4 separate regions of the Homo sapiens genome follow, and regions 1, 3 and 4 are each linked to region 2. Evidence: promoter capture Hi-C in human tissues and cell types (Jung and others, 2019). All regions are on one chromosome and are shown on one strand. The core of a region is centred on a gene start or on the middle of the fragment in contact, and the rest is flanking DNA. Distances in the headings are between cores, read along the strand shown.

Evidence for each region. Contacts are between HindIII fragments. The study calls those that stand out against the background at their distance.
Region 1: a fragment that was not itself captured here is called in contact with the fragment with the promoter of B4GALNT3 in region 2 in 2 of the 25 tissues and cell types used here (dorsolateral prefrontal cortex and heart left ventricle).
Region 3: a fragment that was not itself captured here is called in contact with the fragment with the promoter of B4GALNT3 in region 2 in 1 of the 25 tissues and cell types used here (lymphoblastoid cells).
Region 4: a fragment that was not itself captured here is called in contact with the fragment with the promoter of B4GALNT3 in region 2 in 1 of the 25 tissues and cell types used here (heart right ventricle).

The regions. Positions count from the first base shown.
Region 1 is chr12:1,113,587-1,116,397 of GRCh38, reverse strand. ERC1 (ELKS/RAB6-interacting/CAST family member 1) reads right to left here. Exons shown (of 19, transcript NM_178040.4): 7 at 365-532. LOC124902857 (a long non-coding RNA gene) reads left to right here. Exons shown (of 3, transcript XR_007063157.1): 3 at 899-984. Among named protein-coding and RNA genes, the nearest start is that of ERC1, 120 kb to the right of the region's middle. RefSeq lists an enhancer at 1-998. The HindIII fragment of the contact is 4,498 bases long and covers 1-2,811 here.
Region 2 is chr12:458,677-461,440 of GRCh38, reverse strand. It overlaps B4GALNT3 (beta-1,4-N-acetyl-galactosaminyltransferase 3), which reads right to left and starts at 1,502. Exons shown (of 20, transcript NM_173593.4): 1 at 896-1,502. The coding sequence starts at 1,064. RefSeq lists an enhancer at 1,351-2,334. The HindIII fragment of the contact is 8,839 bases long and covers 1-2,764 here.
Region 3 is chr12:1,097,211-1,100,097 of GRCh38, reverse strand. The region is part of intron 3 of ERC1 (ELKS/RAB6-interacting/CAST family member 1); the gene reads right to left. Among named protein-coding and RNA genes, the nearest start is that of ERC1, 110 kb to the right of the region's middle. The HindIII fragment of the contact is 4,018 bases long and covers 1-2,887 here.
Region 4 is chr12:1,034,104-1,036,920 of GRCh38, reverse strand. All of the region lies in intron 2 of ERC1 (ELKS/RAB6-interacting/CAST family member 1), which reads right to left. Among named protein-coding and RNA genes, the nearest start is that of ERC1, 44 kb to the right of the region's middle. The HindIII fragment of the contact is 8,762 bases long and covers 1-2,817 here.

The sequences.
Region 1 (2,811 bases), core at 75-2,574, 660 kb before region 2:
CAAGCTCATTGTCATTCATGACTAGAAAATTCACCAGGGGTTGAACTGAAGCTTCTAAATCAATGATTTCTCTTTTACAATTATCCTTTTATTTTTAATACTGTCAGAGTATACTTTGAAGTACAGACTTGGCAAAAGTTTAAAGAATTAAAAACATAAACTGCACCTGTTTTAACTTGTTAGATCTAAGAACAACTGAAATAAGATGGTTACATTTTAGCACAGTGACTGATCACGCTGCTGAAGAATTAATCATAACATTACTCATATTTCCCAATTCTAAACATAACAAAAACAGCACAGGTAACGCTTATGAAAAGGTGCCAAGAAACCAACTCCCCACAAATCCCAGAATTGTTTCTACCTCAGTCTGCAGGATGGCAGCCCTCTGCTCCTTAGCAGTCAAGGACTCCTTCAACACTTCAATGTGCTGTTTACTATCTGAGAACTGGTTTGTGAGTGTTTCTAGCTTTGTCTGCAGGGCGAGTAGTTCTGTGTCCTTTCTGGACAGCTCCTGTTTCACCTGGCCAATCTAGAAAAGAAGTAAAACACTTTAAGGAAAAAAGAAATAAAACAAACACCTCTTATCTGTATCTTTCACAGATCTGAGTCACAAAATATGAAACTAAATGCAGCACGAACTGTGTGATAGGTCATATTCATCTTTTTGCATGACATAACCTTGGATCTCCCCAACCCTGAGCCAAAAAAAACCACTAAACTTATTCAACCAATAGGGAAATGTCCAGTTTTCATTTATTGTGTCTTCTAAATATTCTTTGAAACCTCTTAGAAAGGGAATGGAGGGAAAGGAAATTCCAATTCAATTAGATGACTATGAGACAGCAGTAAGCAACTGAACACCACTGTACTGATGAAATGGTTTTCATTTTTCTAGGTGAGACCTCTTCAGAACATGATGGATCAAATGCAGGATGAGTGCAGATATAACAAAAAAGGTTTTAGAAACCTCCTAGTACTATTTAAAATTCAAAATCTGCTGCTGTTGTGCTAATTTTTCACTGTTATCTTTTTCATTCTCAAAAGTTTGCATAAAATTCTTATCTTAAAAAGCCACTTTTAATGTTATACATAACATGGTTTTGTAAAATCCTATAATTTGATGTTATGTGTATTGATTAATTTCTCTCTTAACATTGAAAGTATTTTCTTTCTAACACCTTCTTTACATTCCTGTTTTCTAAGAATTTTAAAAATAGTTTTTTACCCTAAATGGAAGCCATGTAAACAGAAATTACATCTCCTTTTAAATTATGTCTACCACCTAACAAGGAACTAAAAAAGATACTAATTATTGGAAGTATACATTTGACAAGTCAGTAATTTCGGTGTCACTGATGAAACAAAAAGTTATCTTTTCATTTTCAAAAACTTGAATGTATCTAAAGTATTGTAATTGTAATAATCTTAGGTATAAGGGATAAAGCTTTTGAGAACAATTTCCCATGAAGAAATAAATTTCACATTAATTAAAATTAGACCTTTGAGGAACACCAAAAATAAATTTCCAATTTAGCCTTCTGTTTCAAAAAAGATTAAGTATTTTTCTCATATGCATAAAATCTCTTTTTAGAGATATAGTTATTCATTCATTCAACAAATATTTCTGTATGCTTATTGTATACAAAGTACCTGAGGATACTAAAAACATCAGTGGAAGATAATTTTAAACGGTGGCTATATTCATCCTGCAAAATAGTATGTACCCAAGAGTTAGCACACACTGTAACAACGTGGAGTCTTTTATGATATCCCTTCACCAATAAAAACAACCCATTAACACTATTCCATTCCCTAACACACTGATTGTAACAAAAACACATTTGTTGTATGAATGAATATTTTGGGGGATGTTCAAAGTGTTACCATTTTCTCAGCTAAAGAACTATGACTAAGATTATTCAAATTTCCAGCTACCTCCAATCACGTGGTCAAAAATAAATATAAAAATCTGTTTCGTCATCATCTGCATTATTAAGTAAGCTTCAAATAATGCTATATTGACCTTAAAGACTAAGAAAGAAAAGAAAATATTTTAAATGAAAAGCAGGGTTTAGGCCGGGTGCAGTGGCTCACGCCTGTAATCATTGCACTTTGGAAGGCCGAGGCGGGTGGATCACAAGGTCAGGAGATCAAGACCATCCTGGCCAACATAGTGAAACCCATCTCTACTAAAAATACAAAAATCAGCTGGGCATGGTGGCGCATGCCTGTAATCCCAGCTACTCAGGAGGCTGAGGCAGGAGAATCGCTTGAACCAGGGAGTCAGAGGTTGCAGTGAGCCGAGATCTCGCCACTGCACTCCAGCCTGGCGACAGAGAAAGACTCTGTCTCAAAAAAATAAAGAAAAAGAAAAAAAGAAAAGAAAAGCAGAGTTTAGAAGCACAAATTTTCCTTAAAGACTGAGAAGGGAAGACATTATAAAGGGGAAGCAAATATAATACAAAGCTTAGGAGCACAAGGCTTTGCAGACATTCACCTATCAGAACTAAGCTAGCTATGTGTCCCTGAATAATTACTTTCCTAATCAGTTTCCTAATTAGTAATAAGGAGAAATTATACGAATGCCACTGTACTGTTTATGGATTCAGTAAAATAAAGCGTGAAATGTGCTTAGCCTGTTGTCTGACTCAATGCAGAAATTACTAATAGTAGCTATTTTAAAAAGGAAGTTATTGATCAACCTTCCCTCTAGCCAATATATGGTTTCCATAAACCAAATTAGACCCTTTCCACCAAAATATTTCCCTTTTTAATATATACTATAAAGTGGACCATAAATAGCAAATC
Region 2 (2,764 bases), core at 253-2,752:
CCCATCCACAGTACGTTGAAAACCACCTCGCACAGCCATACCTATTGATGTAAAAAGGCAAAGAGACCACGCTCTCCTGTTTTCCTAGGAGGAAACTGAGGCACGGAAATATTAAGTGGCTTTGGCTAAGTTAAAAACAGAAGTAGGAATCTACCTGCTGCCCGGTCCACTGTGCTGTCCATCATCTCCTTAAACTGGGGAGTTTGGTAGATTTGCTCAGGGTTCAGAAAAGTGGCAGAAGGGGCGGCCCGAACAGGAGAAAGAGGGCGCAGCGAGGAGGTGGGAGATTCAAAGAGCCGAGGACGGAGGCTGGGAGAGGAGCGACGTATGGGAAGCGGGGAAGAGACGGGACTCTCCGAGGTATGGTAAAAAAGAACCCCCCTAGAAGATGCAGCAGGAGAGGAAACGGAGTGAGCCAAACAGAAGGCGGTGGGCAAAGTTTGGGCTGCGCGGACTGGAGCGCGCGCCTGGGTGTGGACGGCCGAGGGCATCCCGCACCCGAATCCCTAGCTCGCGCGTGGACCCCACGGACCTCCTCCCCGGGAACCGCAAGCCCGGAGCGGCTGGAGGGGCCCGGTCTCCGCCAGCGTCTCGGCGGGACGGGCGGGGAGCCTCTCTCCGGGTCGCTCTCCGAGGGGAGACGCGAGGAGCCCCCAGGGTGCCCCGGACCCACGTGGCCGGCGGGCAGGCCCGGGCTCGGGAATTCTGCGCTCGGCCCCGCGGCTTCCCCCGCCCGCAGCTCTCCCCGAGTACGCGCGGGGCGACGCCGGGCACCTGAGGGAGAAATGGGTGGGAAATCGGGTCTGAGGATGGGATGAGAGGCGGGTCCCCCCAACGCAGGAGCCGCCGCCGCCGCCCACCCCCGCGCCCTTCGCCTCCCCTGGGTGCTACTTACTCCGGTTCAGGGGGTTCCCGCCGACCTGGGCCGACGCCACCAGTTCCAGATACAGAGTCCAGAGCCCCACAGACACCACGGCGAGCGCCAGCAGCAGCCGGAAGCGCCTCCGCAGCAGCTTCACCGGGCGCAGGAGCAGCGGGGGCCGCGCGGCCCGGGGGCTCCCCATGGCGCTGCGCCGAGGCGGCCGCCGCCAGCGCGGGCTCCAACCCCCCGAGCCGCCGCCCCCCGGCCGGGCCCCGCGCCCAGGGCGCCCCGCGTCCCGGCCCAGCGTCTCAGGGCTGCGCCGAGGCCGTCTCTCCCGGCCGCTCTCCGGCGGGGCTCGGGCTCATGCTCCGGGCGCGAGGGGTCTCCGGGCTGCGCGGGCGCCCAGCAGGTCTCTCCGGGAGCCGAGCCCGGCTCCTCCTCCGCGCGTGTGTTCCGCGCCGGGCTCTCCTCCCCACGCCTCTCCCGTCGCAGGCTCGCTGCCGCCCTCCCTCCCTGCGCGCCCGCCCTCACTCGCTGCCCAGAAGGAGGCTTCCCCGGCGCCCGCCCGCCTGCCTCCGCCCGCGCCCCCGCCAGCCCCGGACCGGGCTCCGGGCTCTGGGCTCTCCTGCTCGCGGAACCTGGCCCGCCCCCGGCCCCGCCCCCGCCCCCGCCCCGGGCACAGGTGGGCTCCGCCCCCGAGAAGCCAGGGACGCGAAGAGGCCATTCGGCTTCCCTAGGGGAGCGAGAGGTGGGGCCAGAGAACTGGTGCCTGGTGCCTCCCCCGACTGGGAACGGGTGGGATGAGGAGGGGGCGAGTGATGATGCGGACTCTGGGTGACCGAGGGAAACCGAGTCACCACCCAGGCGCCTAACGGTGTGGTTTTAGGCAGAAGCGAAGTAGAGGCTGGTTTGGGCGACGCCCAAGGCTTTAGCCTCAGAGCCTTTCGTCGCCAACAGCAACGACCCGACTCCCTGCTTGACGAAACCAGTAGGCGTGAAATATCACGGGAGCCACTGGACGCTTAACGCAGACATAGCTTCGTTTTCCAGTTGAGATTTGAAGACCTTTCTTCCCAGCCTGAACCACATCTCCGAGAGGCGCTGGGGAAGTCGTACAGCCCCCACGGTGAACCCCAGCAAGCAGTTTTCCCCAGACTGGGCTGGAATGGCTGTTTGAAGAGAGTAGGTGTTTGAGGGTTCCGAAAAAGAATTTTAAAAAGAAAAGAAAAGTATTCACTCTTAGAGTTGAAAAGATCAGCAAGATAAGCCAGGCACAGTGGCTCACGGCTGTCGTCCCAGCACTTTGAGAGGCTGAGGCAAGAGGATCTCTTGATCTCTGGAGGTCAAGGCTGCAGTGAGCCGTGATTGCGTCAGTGCACTCCAGCCTGGGCAACACAGCAAGACCCTGTCTCAAAAAAAAAAAAATCAGTATTCCAGTCCTCTGCCTTCAGGCAGGTAAAGCATTATTATCTGATTTAAATTAGATAAAGTATCAAGGGGCAGAATAACTGCCCCAGGTCACTCAGCAAGTTATACTGCAGTTTTCTTTTCCATTATCTCTTCTGGGAAAAATGGTCAGGAGACTATGGGAAAAGTGAAGGATCAAAGTGTTCCTGGACATTTTAAAATCAAATGAATATCACACAAGTACTGTTCCAAGACAGAGGTTCTCACAGAATTGAGAACTATGTTTCCCTTCTCTCTGTTCTCACCTCAGTTGGATATTCAATAGTTTCTACAGGACTTTTCCTAATTAGCCTCCCCAACTCCAAGCTTCCCATCGCATCCTGTCCACTACCACCAGATGGTCTTCATAAAAAGCCAGGCATGGTGACACACACCTGTAGTCCTAACTTACTCGGGAGGCTGAGGTGGGAGGAGTGTAAGGTTGTAGTGAGCCAC
Region 3 (2,887 bases), core at 185-2,684, 640 kb before region 2:
GGCGGGTGGATCACGAGGTCAGGAGTTCAAGACCAGCCTGGCCAACATGGTAAAATCTTATCTCTACTAAAAATACAAAAAAATTAGCTGGGCCTGGTGGTGCGCACCTGCAATCCCAGCTACTGGGGAGGCTGAGGCAGGAGAATGGCTTGAACCCAGGAGGTGGAGGTTGCAGTGAGCCGAGATGGTGCCACTGCAGTCCAGCCTGGGTGACAGAGCAAGACTCTGTCAAAAAAAAAAAAAAAAAAAAAAAAAAAAAAAATCAAAGTCTCAAGCAGGCTCATCCTTATTACCCCATTTTCACTTATGATTTGACTCTAATATACATCCCCAATCTCCCTAACCAAGATCTACTTTTTTCTTGGTATTTATAACTGTTTGTTTATTGTTTGTCTCTCCTATCCCAGGAATTTTTCTTTTTTATTCTCTGATGTATATCAGCACCCAGAACAATACACAGTACAATGATAGTACTCAAATATTTGTCAAATGAATGAAAATACTTTTTAAGTAACTGTATAATTCATATGTAAAAAGTGTTATAAAGAAAATATCCACAATACTGTAAGAGAGTAATTAGGAGATCCTGACGTAGTCTTGGGATCTTGTAAAGTTTCCTAAGGAACACCTGAGAGCTGAAGGATGAACAGGAGTTAGAGTGGGCAAAGTGCAACCATAAAAAGGGAGGGGAAAGATGATCTCACAGGTATGTTTTCGGCCAACTAAAATCCAGAGAATGACACATGGGAGTTGAGAATCTGAAACTGCCCACACACCACTGCAGAGTCTCTGTGAACTCCAAGGTGTTCAAATGCCTGCCCTGAAGACAGCTGGTCCACACCTGCTATCTCTCCTTCTTCCTCTCCCTCTCCCATTCACTCTTTTTATTTTAATTAATTTTAAAATATTTCAGACATACAAGATTCCCTTTACCTCATAAAAGCAGCCTAATCTGGCTTGTTTCTCTACCCCTCCATTGAAACAACTCATCAAGACCACCAACGAATTCTAAGTTACCAACTCTAACAAACACATTTCTGTCCTCATCTCCCTGGAACTCTCAGAAGCATTCAAAGCAACGGCCCAATCCCTCCTAGACACTTGTTTTCTCTTGACTATTAGGACATCACACTCTCCTGTTTTTAGTTCTCACTCTCCAGTTGCACTTTCTCTGTTTCCTTCACAGGTTCTTCCTTCTAAATCAGACCTCCAGGTCTAAATTAGACCAGTGACCAGGTGATCAGTTCTAACCTTTTTCTCTTTTCCATCTAAACTCTTTAATCTACTACATGGTTTAAAATACAACGGAAATGCTGATGAATTTCTAGGCCTGCCCTCTGCTCTGATTTCAGGACTCATACATCCAACTGCCCATTTGGCATCTCTATTTAGATGTCTAACAGGCAACTCACACTTATTTTATCAAAAAAAATTCTTGATTTCCTCTTCTTCAATCTCACCCATCATCTGGTGACTCTGATGAGAGATGAGTCTTCTCTGTCTCATTAAATGGCACTGCCATTCCAGTGGCTCAAGCCAAACACCAAAGCTCTCCTTTTTCTCCTCCTGATATTCATTTCCCACAACCAAGTCAACAGCAGGTCCTAACTGTTCTAGTGCGGAAGTATTTCTTGAGTCTAACCATTTCACCCCATTTCCAGTCTAGTTTGCAACAGCCTCTAGTTAGCTTTCTTCCACCTCCTTTGTCTATTTTCAAGAGAGCACCAGGGTGATCTTGATAAAATATCCACAAATCATGGCATTAATCTGCTTTAAATCTTTCAATAAATTTACCATTATACTTCTCACTTTGACCATAAGGTGAGATGGGCCTTCCTGTCATAAACTATCATAAAATTAAACAAAATGCATGAAATAACTGTTTTCAGACCCTGGATAACAAGCAATACAGGACTATGATCCTTGAGAGAAAATAAACAAGGTGATGGCCCAGATATGTCTAGTATGGGGCGTAGGGAGGGAAAGCCCAAACAAAGAACAGCAGTCTTGCAAAGCTCCAAAGACAGTTTAATGAGTAAGGTTCCCATTAATCTGCAAAACTTTGCGGAGCAAAATACCAGAGGTCCGGGCACCATGGCTCACGCCTGTAATCCCAGCACTTTGGGAGGCCAAGGCGGGCAGATCACTTGAGGCCAGGAGTTCAAGACCAGCCTGGCAAACATGGCAAAACCCCGTCTCTTCCAAAAATACAAAAAGTAGCTGAGCATGGTGGGGGGCACCTGCAATCCCAGCTACTCGGGAGGCTGAGGAAGGAGAATCGCTTGAACCTGGGGGGCAGAGGTTACAGTCAGCCGAGATCGCGACATTGCACTCCAGCTTGGGCAACAGAGTGAGACTCTGTCTCAAAAAAAAAAAAAAAAATTAAAAATTAAAAACAAAACACAGAGAAGGGAGCTTACCAGAAAAGCAGCACTGTCTAACCTGACAAGGGTCCCCTTGAGTCTTTGGCCAAATACTAAGCTGTGCATGTATAGGGCAAGCTGCCACAAAATAAGATCAAGAGCTACTGGAGAAAGAGCAACTATCAGAGAGCCATGAGTTGAGTAACTACCTGAACCCCATAGGGCTGGGAAAAATTCAAGTTCCAAATAGTGGGGAGAACAGCAGAGGCATTTAGTAGAGACACTAAAAGGTCAAGCTTAGGAGTAGAGCTGATGTAGCCTAGAGAAAAGGCTATTCTAAACCAGGCCTAACAGAGTTTAAAAGCAAGTCTTGAAAGGATCAAGTTAATCCCCAAGTAAATTAACTCTTGCCAGACAAAACAACCCTTCATTAAGGAAGGTACCAAAATCCAGATACTCAATCACCTTGTGTCCAAAATGTCCATCATACCACAAATTCTATACACACGAAGTAGGAAAATATG
Region 4 (2,817 bases), core at 226-2,725, 580 kb before region 2:
TTTGATTTCATTTTCTCATGGCACTCTGCATAGTGCCTTTAACACATTCCCCTTCTGAAACAACAAAAAAGATTAAACTTATCTGGGCAATAAACAAGGATACCAATTTATCTACATCTCCTTGTTAAAACAGAATTATCAAAAAGAAAATTAAAACAATAATCTAAGACATAGATCCCAAATTTTAAGATCAGACTTTAAATGACAGTGAAACAACTAGCAACCTCATGACAAAGTTTATTTAAGGCCAGGAGCAGTGGCTCACACCTGTAATCCCAACACTTTGGGAGGCCGAGGTTGACAGATCACCTGAGGCCAGGAGTTTGAGACCAGCCTGCCCAACATGGCGAAACACCATCTCTACTAAAAATACAAAAAATTAGCCGGGCGTGGTGGCGTGCACCTGCAGTTCCAGCTACTCAGGAGGCTGAGGCAGGAGAATCACTTGAACCTGGGAGGTGGAGGCTGCACTGAGCCGAGATCGCACCATTGCACTCCAGGCTGGGCAACAAGAGCAAAACTCTGTCTCAAAAAAAAAAAAAAAAAGTTTATTTAATGGCAAATAATAATGGCTTTTATCATGCGGCAAATCAAGATACAACCTAAAATTATATAAATGTTAATAGTCAAAAGTCTCCAAATAATGAGAAAAAAAAATGACAAAGAATTACACAAGGTTATCTTTTTGCAGTTCTGAACTAGAAATTCTCGATTCCTAAGTAAATGAGCAACATAAAAATCAGACTCCAAAAAGAGAAGAAACACAACACACAAGGCAAAAAACATTAAATTCACCTGCCGTCCTATAATATTAAACAGTATTTTGTTCATGAAATATTTCAATGACAGTGCTTTAAATAAACATTTTTAAAATAAGCTTCCAACTAAATTTAACATACAGAATTATTTCAAGGCATAATTTAAAAAGTATGATGATAATCTGGTTAAATGCTGTTTAGAATTTAAAAAAAAAATCATCCAAAGTATTTTTTTTTTTCTGAGACGGAGTCATGCTCTGTCTCCCAGGCTGGAGTGCAGTGGTGCGATCTCAGCTCACTGCAAGCTCCGCCTCTCGGGTTCACGCCATTCTCCTGCCTCAGCCTCCCGAGTAGCTGGGACTACAGGTGCCCGCCACCACACTCAGCTAATTTTTTGTATTTTTAGTAGAGACGGGGTTTCACCGTGTTAGCCAGGATGGTCTCGATCTCCTGACCTCGTGATCCGCCCACCTCAGCCTCCCAAAGTGCTGGGATTATAGGCATGAGCCACTGAGCCCGGCCCCATCCAAAGTCTTAGTAGCTCTGCAGTTCCACCAAGCTCACAGCTAGATTTTCATTCTTTGTCAAACATACACCAAAAACCTTCCTGACTCCCAATTTTAAAAAAGAAAAAGAAAAAGCCTTCCCTGTTACATACTATTCTAACTCTCCAACCAGCAGTATTTGAAAGTTCAGTAACAAAAGGATGAGACATAAAAATTGCTGAGTATTTATATCAGAAACATCTTCTAAAAGAACTCCATAATAAAGAACCACACATATCAAGTAATTCTAAGCAAATGCGTCTTTACATCTAATAGGATCCTAGAACAAGATCTCTATGGTCCAATCAGATCCAATATTTAGAATGGACCTAAATCCCCAGTCTCAAACTGAAATGGGGAAACCATTTAATTACTGTAAATCCTATTAAACCAATCTTCTTTATCAAGTGGAAGATGCCTGACCTCTGAGGGCTATGGAGGGTATAATGAATGCAGAGTTTAATTAGGCCCCACTGCTGGCTGACTATAATCTATTAATTAGCATTCTCTGTCTCTGTATCTCATTGCAGTGTTTCACTTTACTTTAAAATTGCACCCTTCGTTTTTTGGACCAAAGTTATACAATTTTAGGATTGTGTAGTAATTACAGTGGGTATACGGAGAATGCATCGCTGCCAGCACTGGTGTTTAATTAGGGCAAGGGGTGGAATCTAGATAAGGCGGTGTTCACCATTCTTCAGCACATATGGGTTTTTTGGCATGAAAATCCTGTGGACTGTTTCACTGGAACTGAAGTATTCAGAAGATTCAAATATTTTGTCTTTGAATGCAGACTGATACTTAGAAAGGATATTACGTATTTTCCACACAGCTTCTGAAGTACAGGCATAAACAATTGCTTCAATTATTCCAAAATGAACAAGTACGCCAATAACTTTTTTCATTAAAATTGACATTTCTGAGTCACTTCATAATAAAAACTATCTTAGTGAGGGGCATAGTTTCAGCATCATCAACAAGGTATAACGGTGACTAGCTAATTCCAGGTATAATGGTGATAAATCCAGTAACTTCAAATCTACTCTAAATTTGATACACACACACACGTATAATCTGACACACACATATACTGTCAATCCATTCTTGAAAAGTAGAGCCTTTAAAAAGAAGTGTTTATTCACATGCAATTTTTCCACAATATTTCTTAATTATTTTAAATTTTTATTTATTTTTTTATTTATTTTTAAGAGACAAGGTCTCACTATGTTGCCCAGGCTGGACTCAAACTCCTGGACTCGAGGGATTCTCCTGCCTCAGCCTCCTGAGTAGCTAAGACTACATGCATATATTACCATACCCAGCTCACAATATTTCTTATAATAAAAAATTATGTCTCAGCCACTTTTCAATTAAATCAAACTGTGATTTTTTATTAACAATACATTTGAAATTGTATAATATTCAAATATGATACACTATGATAATTATCTAAATACATATAAAGAATCTCATATTTGGGCACTAGTATACACCATTACATACTCCAAATTTAC